Linked DNA regions of Homo sapiens: all the other regions are linked to region 3. Evidence: promoter capture Hi-C in human tissues and cell types (Jung and others, 2019). All regions are on one chromosome and are shown on one strand. Each heading gives the region's core, a stretch centred on a gene start or on the middle of the fragment in contact. The rest is flanking DNA. Distances are from core to core; before and after follow the strand shown.

Region 1 (3,971 bases), core at 583-3,082, 100 kb after region 3:
TGCATCTGTAAAATAGGGAGAATCACACCTGTGTGGTAGCTTTTATGAGTATTCAATGAAGCAATGTATGAAAAGCATCAAGGTCAGTGCCTGGCACAAACCAGGTTCTCAGACAAGTAATCCTTGCTATTGCTGATATATACAGCTTCTATTATACTATTTTGCAGCTTTTCCAGCTAGTCACGGCACAATACATGACTTAAAGACACAAAAGGGAGACTTCCTTTCCTCTGATCTCACTCCCTGATTCACTGGCCTGGCTTCTTATAAAGAAAGGTCTTGGCCTGGTTTAAGCAGAAATTCATTTACCAAAAGAATTAGTTGATGAAGGCCAGGCGCGGTGGTTCACGCCTGTAATCCCAGCACTTTGTGAGGCCGAGGCAGGCAGATCATGAGGTCAGGAGATCGAGACCATCCTGGCTAACATGGTGAAACCCCGTCTCTACTAAAAATACAAAAAATTAGCTGGGCGTGGTGGCGGGCGCCTGTAGTCCCAGCTACTTCGGAGGCTGAGGCAGGAGAATGGCGTGAACCTGGGAGGCGGAGCTTGCAGTGAGCCGACGTGCGCCACTATACTCCAGCCTAGGTGACAGAGCGAGACTCCGTCTCAAAAAAAAAAAAAAAAAAAGAATTAGTTGATGAGGTCACCAGTAAATGTAAAGCATTTCATTTATTCACACAATAAATGTTAATAAAGAGTGTACTATAACCCAAGCTTTAGGGAGACCATGTAGCACTTGGTAGGCACAGTCCCAGGCCTCAGGGAGCTGAAGTGATGGGGAAGGCAAACATCAAGCAAGTCACTGGCACCACCAACGTGATTCAGACACGTCTGATCACCCCCGATCACCTGGCATTTTCAGGGCTTAGAATCAGTAAACAAATAGAAACTCCTTAGTTCCCTGCTTTCTCCACTTCTCTGCAAATCATCACCAATTAAGTGCGCATTCAATAAAAGCAGAGAAAAACATTAAGTCCTTAGTGATTCCCATCACTGCTGCCCACATTTCATTGCTGAGAACTAATCACATGACCATAACTGGGCATGAAGAGGGTTGAGAAAATAGCCCTTGACTGGGCTGTCACTTTCCATGCTAGGAAAGGGAGGATGCATTTTTGGTAGCCAAATGGCATATACTTGGGAAAGACCATTGTGACTTTTCTGCCACAGCCAGAAAGAAGGCCAAACATATCAGCAATCCTAACACCTAATGAAAAGAACACAGGAAAGATGGAAAAGACATCGAAAAAGGCATGCTAGGCCGGGCGCAGTGGCTCACACCTATAATCCCAGAACTTTGGGAGGCTGAGGCAGGTGGATGACCTGAGGTCAAGGGTTCGAGACCAGCCTGACCAACACGGCGAAACCCCATCTCTATTAAAAATACAAAAATTATGTAATCTCAGCTACTCGGGAGGCTGAGGCAGGACAATCGCTTGAACCTGGGAGACGGAGGTTGCAATGAGCTGAGATCGCACCATTGCACTCCAGCCCAGGTGACAGTGTGAGACTCCGTCTCAAAAAAAAAAAAAAAAAAAACACAAAAATTAGGCCAGACACGGTAGCTCACGCCTGTAATCCCAGCACTTTGGAAGGCCGGGGCGGGCGGATCACCTGAGGTAGGGAGTTCGAGACCAGCTTGACCAACGTGGAGAAACCCTGTCACTACTAAAAATACAAAATTAGCTGGGTGTGGTGGTGCATGCCTGTAATCTCAGCTACTTGGGAGGCTGAGGTAGGAGAATCGCTTGAACCCAGGAGGCAGAGGTTGCAGTGAGCCAAGATCATGCCATTGCACTCCAGCCTGGGCAACAAGAGCAAAGCTCTGTTTCAAAAAATAAATAAATAAATACAAAAATACAAAAATCAGTCAGGCATGCTGGTGCAGGCCTGTGGTCGCAGCTACTCAGGAGGCTGAGGTGGAAGGACCACTTGGGCCTGGGAGGCAGGGAGGTTGCAGTTAACCAAGATTGTGCCACTGCACTCCAGCCTGGATGACAGACAGGCTGCACTCCAGCCTGGATGACACTGCACTCCAGCCTGGATGACAAAAAAAGAAAATAAAAGAAAAAGGCATGCCAGGTATATATTAATAGTAGTCATCTCACACAAAATAAAATTCAAAATGAAAAGCATTAAAAGAATATATCATAATTATAACATTATAATCCACAAAAATATGAATCATAAACATTTATGTACCTACAACCTTGGCCTCAAAATCTGTAAGTAAGACAAGCCCTGATAGAAATGCAAGGAATCACTGGTAAGTCCCCATCATGGGTGGCTTTAAATACATTTCTCAAAAACAGGCTGATCAACTACTACCCAAATGAATATGTCTTAAGAAGTCCTGGCTGACAAAACTAACATTTATAACTTCATAGGCATATGGAGAGAAACAAGTTTTTATCCAACAGACATTACACATTTTTTTCCAACTCTCATGAGACATTCTCTGAATGTATTAAACCACAAAGAAAATCACAACAAATCCCCAATAGTAAAACTGTGACAGCATACATTCATGAACTATAATGGAATAAAATTAGAAAATAATAAAAGATGGATAACAAACAAAAATCTATCCTCTTGGATATTTTAAAACATTCCACTAAATAAGTCTTAGGTTTGACAGGAAATAAGCACAGAAATTACAAGCCATTTAGAACTGAATCACAGTAAGAGCTGTCCATGGATATCAAGGCCCTTGGGACACGCTAAGACAGCACTCACAGGGAAAATACATAGCCTTATGTGCATGTGACAGAAAATAAGAAATGTTGAAAATAAATGAATCAACCAAGATTTCAACTCAAGAAGCTTGGCAGGGGATGGAGAGAGACAAAATAAACCTGAAGAAAGTTGAAGGAATGAATTAAGAAAGATAAGAGTAGAAATTAATAAAAATAGAAAATAAAGAGGTGATAGCATGTGGTGACTGGTTTTTCAGATGCTGGCAAGGTTGCAGAGAAAAGGAAACACTTATACACTGTTGGTGGGAGTGTAAATTAGTTCAACCATTGTGGAAAACAGTGTGGCGATTTCTCAAAGACCTAAAAGCAGAAATACCAATTGACCCAGCAATCCCATTACTGGGTATATGCCCAAAGGAATATAAATTGTTCTATTATAAAGACACATGCATGTGTATGTTCATTGCAGCACTATTCACAATAGCAAAGGCACGGTATCAACCTAAATGCCCATCAATGATACACTGGAAAAAGAAAATGTGGTACATATACACATGGAATACTATGCAGCCATAAAAAAAGAATGAGATCATATTTTTTGCAGGAACATGGATGGAGCTAGAGGCCAATATCCTTAGCAAACTAACACAGAAACAGAAAACCAAAACCGCATGTTTTCGTTTTTAAGTGAGAGCTAAATGATGAGAACACATGGACACATAGAGGGGAACAATACACACGGGGTCCTATCAGGGGCTGGAGATGAGGATCAGGAAAAATAACTAATAGGTACTAGGCTTAATACCTGGGTGATGAAATAATCTGTACAACAAACCCCCATGACACAAGTTTACCTATATAACAAACCTGCATATGTACCCCTGAACTTAAAATAAAAGTTAAAAAATAAAAATTAACTTGTTTTTTGAGAGAAGTAATAGAAAGGCAAAACTTTGGCTTATCTTTCAAGAAAAAATCACAAGTCAAAAACTAAGAATGTTTATCTTCATGGCAAGCATTTTGAAAAGTACTGGATGAAGAGACTAATATCCTAGAAAAATATTAATTACAAAGATTCATTCAAGGAAAATTAGGAATGTTAAATAGAATCATTACTATCAAGGAACTTAAAGAGATACTCAAAGATCTATCCCTAAAACAGACACTGAGTCCAGAGGGCTTTTCAGGTAGATTCTGACAAAGCTTTAAGGAAGAGATAATTCTATATAAACTGCCTCTGATCCTAGGAAAACATGGGAAGCTTACCTAACACA
Region 2 (4,202 bases), core at 843-3,342, 95 kb before region 3:
CCTTCCTAGGCATTGAACCTATGACCACACAGGACACCCCTTTCTCTGCCCTTTCAGTCTCCTATCTGCCCCTCTGGGTCAGTGGTTCTCTTGTCTTCATCCAAGCCTGGTCAAATGTGCAAGCCACCCTAGGTCTGAAGGAAGAAGGAAGGTGGGTCCCAGTCTTGGAAGGTACTGAACCCACGTGGTTTCCTTGTTTGCTCAAAAACAGCCAAAATAAGGGCCCTCATTCCCTCGCTCAGGTTAGTTAGAAATAGGACAAATGAGTAGAAAAAAATATACAAGGAAATGTTTTTGGCCGGGCACAGTGGCTCAAGCCTGTAATCTCAGCACCTTGAGAGGCAGGAGGATCACTTGAGCCCAGGAGTTTGAGACCAGCCTGGGCAACATGGCAAAACCCTGTCTCTGAAGAAAAATAGAAAATGTGCCTGACATGGTGGCTCATGCCTGTGGTCACAGCTACTCAGGAGGCTGAGGTGGGAGACTCCCTTGAGCTCAGGAGGTGGAGGCTGTAGCGAGCCATGACCATGCCACTACACTCTAGCCTGGGTGACAGAGTAAGGTTTTGTCTCAAAAAAAAAAAAAAGAAAAAAGAGAAATGTTTTTTAATCTGTAGTTAGCGCACCAGCATGGAGAAGCGTGGGCTGCACAGGGAGCCCATCAGTGCTCCTATGCTGTGGGTTCCTGTCTGCAAGCTTTGCTTAAAGAACCCTCCTCATGGAAACTGATAAAGTGAAGCCTTCACGGAAAGTTCATAGGGACACCCGGCCTAAAACGAATGACTCCTATGCCTTTCCTTCCTGCCTCCCACATTTTAAGGCAGGGGTCTTAGGGCTGAAATAAACATCAAGAACAAGGCAGAAGAAGGCATCTAAGGGTGGTTTGGAAAGGGAGGGGCGATCCCATGTTTCTGTTTGATGTTGGCAGGTGGGCTCGTGAGCTGATCACACACACGCAAACACACTCACAACACAAGGACTGGCCGGGCACGTTGGCTCACACATGAAATCCCAGCACTTTGGGAGGCCAAGGCAGGCGGATCACTTGAGGTCAGGAGTTCAAGACCAGCCTGGGCAAGAGGTGAAACCCCGTCTCTACTAAAAATACAAAATTAGCCTGGTGTGGTGGCACGTTCCTGTAATCCCAGCTCCTCAGGAGGCTGAGGCATAAGAATCGCTTGAAACCAGGAGGCAGAGGTTGCAGTGATCTGAGATTACGCCACTGCACTCCAGCCTGGGTGACAGAGCCAGACTATGTATTAAAAAAACAAAACAAAGACATACACACACACACACACACACACACACACACACAAATTTACACACAACACATACACACACACAGACACAACACCCATGCACATGGAGACCCAAGCAGACATAGACACTCACTCTCTCTCTCTCACACACACACACACACACACACACACACACACACACACTCGGGCCACAGCTAGTCTCAAAGGTCCCTCTGTGTGAACTAGAAAAAGGCAACCCCTGGGAAGATACAGACCCTCAAAGCCTGGATATCAGCCTCCACTCACCTCTCCTCCAGGTGCCCCTGCAGGGCACACGGCATAACAGCACATGGTGGCCCTGTCTACGCTTCCTCTTGTGGATGTGTGGGTGTGGGTGTTAGGGGGAAGGGGAGATAGCCAAGAGAGAGCGCGGCTTTTCCTTCAATCACGGACAGCTTTCTGTCCGGAACTGCTCAGGGCTAGTAGGACAGGCCCCGTCTCTCCCGAGGAGTTCCTCTGGGTGCACGAAATTACCTGTTGGGATAGGTGACATTACAGGGCACTTTGCCCGTGTAATTCTCATTAAGCCAGCGATTCGCCAGTGCCTGCTGAATATTTGGCCTCTTCACAGGATCCGGTTCCAGGAGAGAGCGCAGGAAACTGATGGCACCTGGGAGACATTTGGGAAAGAATGCACGCATGTTACAGGCTGAACGCAGACACCAGTGAAAGCCACCATCACAGGGGACTCGCCACCTTGCCTGCCCATCCCGAGTCACTGCTGGGGTGATCTCTTCTCTAGGTCTCTGGGCAGGGTTCCGATTCAATGAATCGTGGAGCTTGGTTTCAGCCCCACCTCCCTTCAGACAGGAGGGGTGTGGAAAATCCCATTTCCCCCTCTCTCTCTTTAAAAAATACACACCACATAGCCAAAGAATTTAATTTCTCTGTCCAAGGGGAGCAACTGGTACATGATACAGCAAGAACCAGTTTGGGTCTCCCCATTCCGTGTTTCCCAAGACAACCTGTGGTCTTTTCTTGTTGCTCATAGGTGAGCCAAAGAGATGCACTATTGACAGGCTTGTAGGAATGAAAGAAAATAAACAGAAAATGCCTGCTCGCAAGGTAGGTTTTTGAGCACTCAGGGAGAAGCCAGAAGTGTACAGGCATCCTAAGTTAGACCTCTCAACTGGGCACCACAGGACACTCAGAGTCTCAAGGGGCCAGAGAGGTCCTGCTTTCTGATCCTTTCCTTTAAAGCCATTCTGCACCGCCGCCCACCTCCCCGCCTCAGCCTCCCAAAGTGCTGGGATTATAGGCCTGAGCCACCACGCCTGGCCAAAAATAATGTTTTAAATGCCCTGGGTTTCCTTTCATTTCACAAATATTTACAGAGCACTTGTCCATTCAAGCACTGGAGATAAGAAGCTAATTCATCTCTAAGCAGAACATTTGCATCCTTTAAGATTATAACAACGGAAACAACTGTATGAGAGGTAAAAATGCGTTTATAATGCACACGAAGCCTTTTATTTTGTATTTATTTTATTCATTATTTTTTATATTTTGGAGACAGAGTCTCACACTGTCGCCCAGGCTGGAGTGCAGTTGTGCCATCATGGCTCACTGCAGCCTTGATCTCTCTGGCTCAGGTGACCTTCCCACCTCAGCCTTCCAAGTAGGTGAGACTACAGGCATGCACCGTCACACCTGGATACTTTTTTTATTTTTTTGGTAGAGATGGGGTTTTGCCATGTTGCCCAGGCTGGTCTCAAACCCCTGAGCTCAAGCGATCCTCCTGCCTCAGCCTCCCAAAGTGTTGGGATTAAGTGTGTAAGCCACCACACCCAACCCATGAAGGCCCTTCTAAGGCTGCAAAATTGTTCAGCAGAAGAATATACAGCATACCCACATGTGGGCAAAGAATGGCAGGGATGACTTCAAAATGCAGACGGTCTGTCTTGCTTGAGTTGTGGGACTGTGATCTTTTCTTATGCTATAGCCCTTATTTTACAAAGTATTGCGGTAATGTTTTTGCAATATGAAGAATTCTTTTACGTAGCTTTGTACTTGATTTCCAACATACCAAATAATAGATCCCAGAAAATAATAATGTGCTTGGTCCCCCGATTTTTCTATCCTTCTCTTCAAAGTTATTTTTTCAGTTTTCTAAAGTAATCTTCTTTGCAAGGAGAAGCCATAAAATGTCCTACTTTCTCAAAAGCTTTAAGTTGTCATTTGAACATTGTTCTTGAGGAAATGCTGAGCCTTTTGTCAACTCATTTTCTGCAGGGTAAAAATGAGGCCATCAAAAAAGGGGCCAGTTGTGATGCCAGAATCAACTCAAGAGAAACAATCTTTGCTAGGTCATGCAGCCAGGTCAACCTCCATGGTCAACCCACCACCAGGGTGGGTTCCCATACTGTTGAAGAGGTTACCAGGTCATCTCCCTTTCAATAGTGGGTAGTCTCTACTGGGTATCTACCCAAAGGAAAATAGGTCATTACATGAAAAAGACACTTGCACACATGTTTATAGCAGCACAATTCACAATTGCAAAAATATGGAACCAGCCCAAATTCCCATCAATTAACAAGTGGATAAAGAAAATGTGACATATATATATACATGTCATATATATAAACACCAAGGAATACTACTCAGTCATAAAAAGGAGCAAACTAATGGCATTCACAGCAACCTGGATGGAGTTGGAGACCATTATTCTAAGTGAAGTAACCCAGGAATGGAAAAACCAAACATTGTGTATTCTCACTCGTAAGTGGGAGCTAAGCTATGAAGGTGCAAAGGCATAAGAATGATACAATAGACTTTGGGGACTTGGAGGGAAGGGTAGGAGAGGGGCAGGGGATAATAGACTACACATTGGGTACAGTGTACACTGCTCAGGCGATGGATGCACCCAAATCTCAGAAATCGCCACTAAGGAACTTATCCATGTAAC
Region 3 (3,809 bases), core at 250-2,749:
AAACCCTCCTCTGAGCACGAAAAATTCCCTAGCTGCCAAAAAACATTCCCTAGCTGCCGGAGCCCACAGGTGGGAAGGAATGCAGGATCTCAGCCTTCTCCCACCTCCTCCGAGAGCCCAGGACGGGGATCAGACTCTAAGCTCCCCCCAGAGGCTGGCTGTTAGCTTTCCTGCCCCCCCCGCCCCCCGACATAAGAGCCCACCTCCTCTAGCCCTGGTTCCCGCCTCGCCACGGATCCGCCGCCCCTGCCGGCCTGAAGGGCAGAGGGGCCCCATCCCGCCCCCCGCGCTAGTGTCGCCAGGCGGCGCCCTTCCACGAGCAGAACGGCCGCGCGGGACGCTTCCCGGGGCAAGGCCGTCCCCTCCCAAGCCCCCAACCCCCGGGCAGCGGACCGCAGGCCGCCTTCGGGAAAGGCTGCGAGATGCTGAGCGCGCGTTTTAACCCAACAGGAAAGCCGGGCGGAGGGGGAAGGCGCTTGGCCCGGGACTGCACACTGGGACTCCCAGTGCAGTGCTCCCCGCGGGGTCCTGGCCGCCGACTCCCGCCCCTGTGCCCCAGCCCCACGGCGCCCGGGAGACTCACCTTCTCCCCGGTCAGCACGTGCAGCCCCTCGCGCACCTTGGCAAAGGAGCCCTCGCCCAGCTTCCTGCTGCCGATGAGGTAGTTGCCCACGCGCTTGTGGTGCTGGAAGTCGCGGAGCCGCTCGCGGGGCACGCCGCTCACCCAGGCAGGCAGGAAACTTCCCTCGCAGGCCGCCGCGGGCCTGGCCGCGTCCTCCGCGCCGCCGCCGCCCCCAGGCGCCGCCGGCTCCCCCAGGAGCCCGTCCCCCGCCGCCGCCGGCATCGCGCTCGCCGCGGCCCGCGCGGCTCCTGCTCGTCTCCCGCGCTCGCAGCTCCTCCTCCCCAGGCTCTTCGGCTTCCCCGGCTTCTCCCGCCGCCGCCCTGGGCCCAGCCCCGCCTGGGTCTCCGCACCCAGAGCCCGGGGCCGCCGCGATCACGCCCCCCGCGCCGCCCAGCGAGGCGCGTAGACAATAGCGGCTGCCCAGGGGACGCGGGACCGGGGACCCCGCCCCCAAAAGTTCTTCCTCTTAGGGTCGCCCGGGCCCCTTTCAGGACACCAGGATCCCGCCCCGGGTCCCGTCCAGGAAGCTAATGACAGTCGCCCTGCTCGGGCGCGCGGGGTGGGGCGCGGTCCGGCGGCGCCTGGGTCCCGGGGTCCGGGTGCCTGGGTCCGGGAGCCCGGGTGCCTCCGCAGCCTCCGCCTCGCCGCCGCCGTCTGGCCCGCACGGGCTTGGGTCGGGCTCCCGCGATCGCTCCTAGCCGTGCGCTGGGCGGCCGCTCCCGCCGGAGAGAAGCGCGCGGCGGGCTGCCGGCGCCCTCTGGAAGGCAGCAGAAGAAAGCCCCATTCAGTTTGAATTTGCAGAAATTTAATCCGCTCGCGGGCGGCGGGAACAGATGCGAGCTCCACTCCGCAGCCCGTGCACTTTCAAATCCCTAGTAGCCCCTCCTTCCCCGCGCGCCACAGTCAAACTCGACCCTCGCTGGAGAGGGGAGGGCCCGGGGAGGGGAGCGGCGGAGTGGACGGAGAAGCCACCTGAGCGCCAGACAGGGAGAACCTGCGCGGCCTCGGAGGCGCGCGCTCCCGGGCCGCCCAGGTCGGGCCGCCTCCGGCTGCGCCTCTTGCCCGGATTCTGGGCTTGGGTTTTCTGGACCTTTCGGCGGTGAAATCCCCCACTGGCCGCACCCACCCGGGGCGGGGGGAAGGGGGAAGGCTCTCGAACTCCGTGGACTGTGAGTCGGGTTGCGTGCCCGGCCCTGAGTCCGCCACACAGTAGGGCCCCCTGGACCGGGGGTGGAAGGATAGATGGATGGCTGGAAGAAAGGGTGGGGAGGCGGCCAGGCGTCTGCCCGGGCTCGCACGCAGCCTGGTTGGCTGTGTTGGAGGAGGCGCAGCCACAGCAGTAATAGTAGCAGCAGCAATGTAGGAACCAGGGCGTTTGCTGCCTCTGCTTGTAGCTTACACCTTCTTTGCCTTCCATTGAAATGATGCCTGTGATTGCAGGAGGTGGACCGGCGCTCGCCTCTCTTCGATGCTTTTGTTCTGCAAGCGCTGTGACTGTGCTCATCGCATAAACAATTGCAACTGCCCTGACGACACTGGACCCTCTCCCAGGATCCCCAACGTCTTCTCAAACCGAAAATGAAGAATCTTGTGAGGGAGAAGGAGGAGGGTAGGTAGGAGGAGGCATTTACAAAATGCTACCTGTTGAGGTGCCCGCATTTGATGGAAACTTCACCCCGATCATGCAACATCAGAGCTGAAAGGAAGGATTTGGTCCTAACAAAGTTCCTTTCATTGTTTATTCCTGAGTAAACAAGTATGACATCGACCCATAGCAATGCTTTGAGATTGGGAGTGGGGGGTGGGGGAACAACAGCTGTCATCAATCCAGTGTCTGGGGGTCTCGCTGACCCATCTGAAGAGGGACGCAGAGAAATGCCTGCTTTCAATACATCTAATTTTAAATACGCTACTATATTCATCCACCTACCTGTTACAAGTCACCAGCCTCAGTTATTATGACGGAACATACTGCGTTTTCTGTTGTTCTGTCTCATTGTTCCCGTTTACCAATATTAAAGATACAGCTTAAAATGTTTTTCTTGCTGTGCTGAAGGGACTTCTTTGCTCCCACCGGCCTTGACTATTTCAGTAACGTTCATTCAATCCTTTTAATGTCTCTAATTCAGTAATCAAATCTTAACAGGACAGTTGCATGGGAGGGGAATGGTAACTAGCGTGGTGCCAGCAGAATAGATGTCCAGCAACTGTCTAAAGAATGAGGAATATGGAGCTCACTTTGGGGTAAAAACCACTCTGAGGCCGGGCGCGGTGGCTCACGCCTGTAATCCTAGCACTTTGGGAGGCCGAGGCAGGTAGATCACGAGGTCAGGAGTTCAAGACCAGCCTGGTCAAGATGGTGAAACCCTGTCTCTACTAGAAATACAAAAATTAGCCGGGCGTGGTGGCGGGCGCCTGTAATCCCAGCTACTCGGGAGGCTGAGGCAGAGAATTGCTTGAATCCAGGAGGCGAAAGTTGCAGTGAGCTGAAATCTTGCCACTGCACTCCAGCCTGGGCGACAGAGCAAGACTCCTTCTCAAAAAAAAAAAAAAAAAAACCACTCTGAATCTTCCATCAGAAACAGTTTGGGAGTCCACCCAATGTTGTGTTAATAGAGTATGATTTTTTTTAATGTTAGGACATGCACTCTTTATGAAAATTTAGAGATTTATTTATTAAGGTTTAAGGGAAATTTCTGAGACTGTTCCCCAAAGTATTTTTATGGTCTAAAAAAAAAAAGTTTCATAAAAATGGTGGATGACATTTACAATGAAATAGAGATTTTCTTTCCTTTTAATTATCCTCTCAGGGTAGAGGTCAGGAAAGGGGTGAAGAAGAGAGAAAATCCAGGCCCATTAAATCTTTTTCAAGCCTGCTGCCTGGGTTTGATTCAAGTTCACTGCTAATTCCATAAGCTGGGATGGATGCCAAAGAGAAGTCCAAATCCTATCCGTGCGTCCCCTTTGTAACTGGTTTTGGAACTACAAGTCCTAGTCTCTGAAATGGCCTGTTTAACAAGAAATCACCCCAGAAATGTCTTTATGTAAAACAAATTAGTACACAATATATTGCCCTCATATTCAGTGTGCAGAAAGCATCTGATTATTCAATGCAACAGTAATGCAGCCTTGAAAATTCTCTGCTAATTAGCCCAAACTAATTTCTAGCCTTATCCTCCTGCGGAGT

What was found. The method cuts DNA at HindIII sites, captures the fragments that hold promoters and counts their contacts. A contact is called where the count stands out against the background at its distance.
Region 1: a contact is called between a fragment that was not itself captured here and the fragment with the promoter of HUNK in region 3, in 5 of the 25 tissues and cell types used here (dorsolateral prefrontal cortex, heart left ventricle, hippocampus and 2 more).
Region 2: a fragment that was not itself captured here is called in contact with the fragment with the promoter of HUNK in region 3 in 6 of the 25 tissues and cell types used here (H1 embryonic stem cells, dorsolateral prefrontal cortex, liver and 3 more).

Annotation. Positions count from the first base shown.
Region 1 is chr21:31,767,670-31,771,640 of GRCh38, reverse strand. No RefSeq gene overlaps it. Among named protein-coding and RNA genes, the nearest start is that of SCAF4, 38 kb to the right of the region's middle. The HindIII fragment of the contact is 4,194 bases long and covers 1-3,929 here.
Region 2 is chr21:31,965,955-31,970,156 of GRCh38, reverse strand. HUNK (hormonally up-regulated Neu-associated kinase) reads right to left here. Exons shown (of 11, transcript NM_014586.2): 6 at 1,772-1,907. Among named protein-coding and RNA genes, the nearest start is that of HUNK, 95 kb to the right of the region's middle. The HindIII fragment of the contact is 5,459 bases long and covers 1-4,202 here.
Region 3 is chr21:31,870,710-31,874,518 of GRCh38, reverse strand. HUNK (hormonally up-regulated Neu-associated kinase) reads right to left here and starts at 1,499. Exons shown (of 11, transcript NM_014586.2): 1 at 584-1,499. The coding sequence starts at 844. RefSeq lists silencers at 226-405, 1,332-1,381. The HindIII fragment of the contact is 17,092 bases long and covers 1-3,809 here.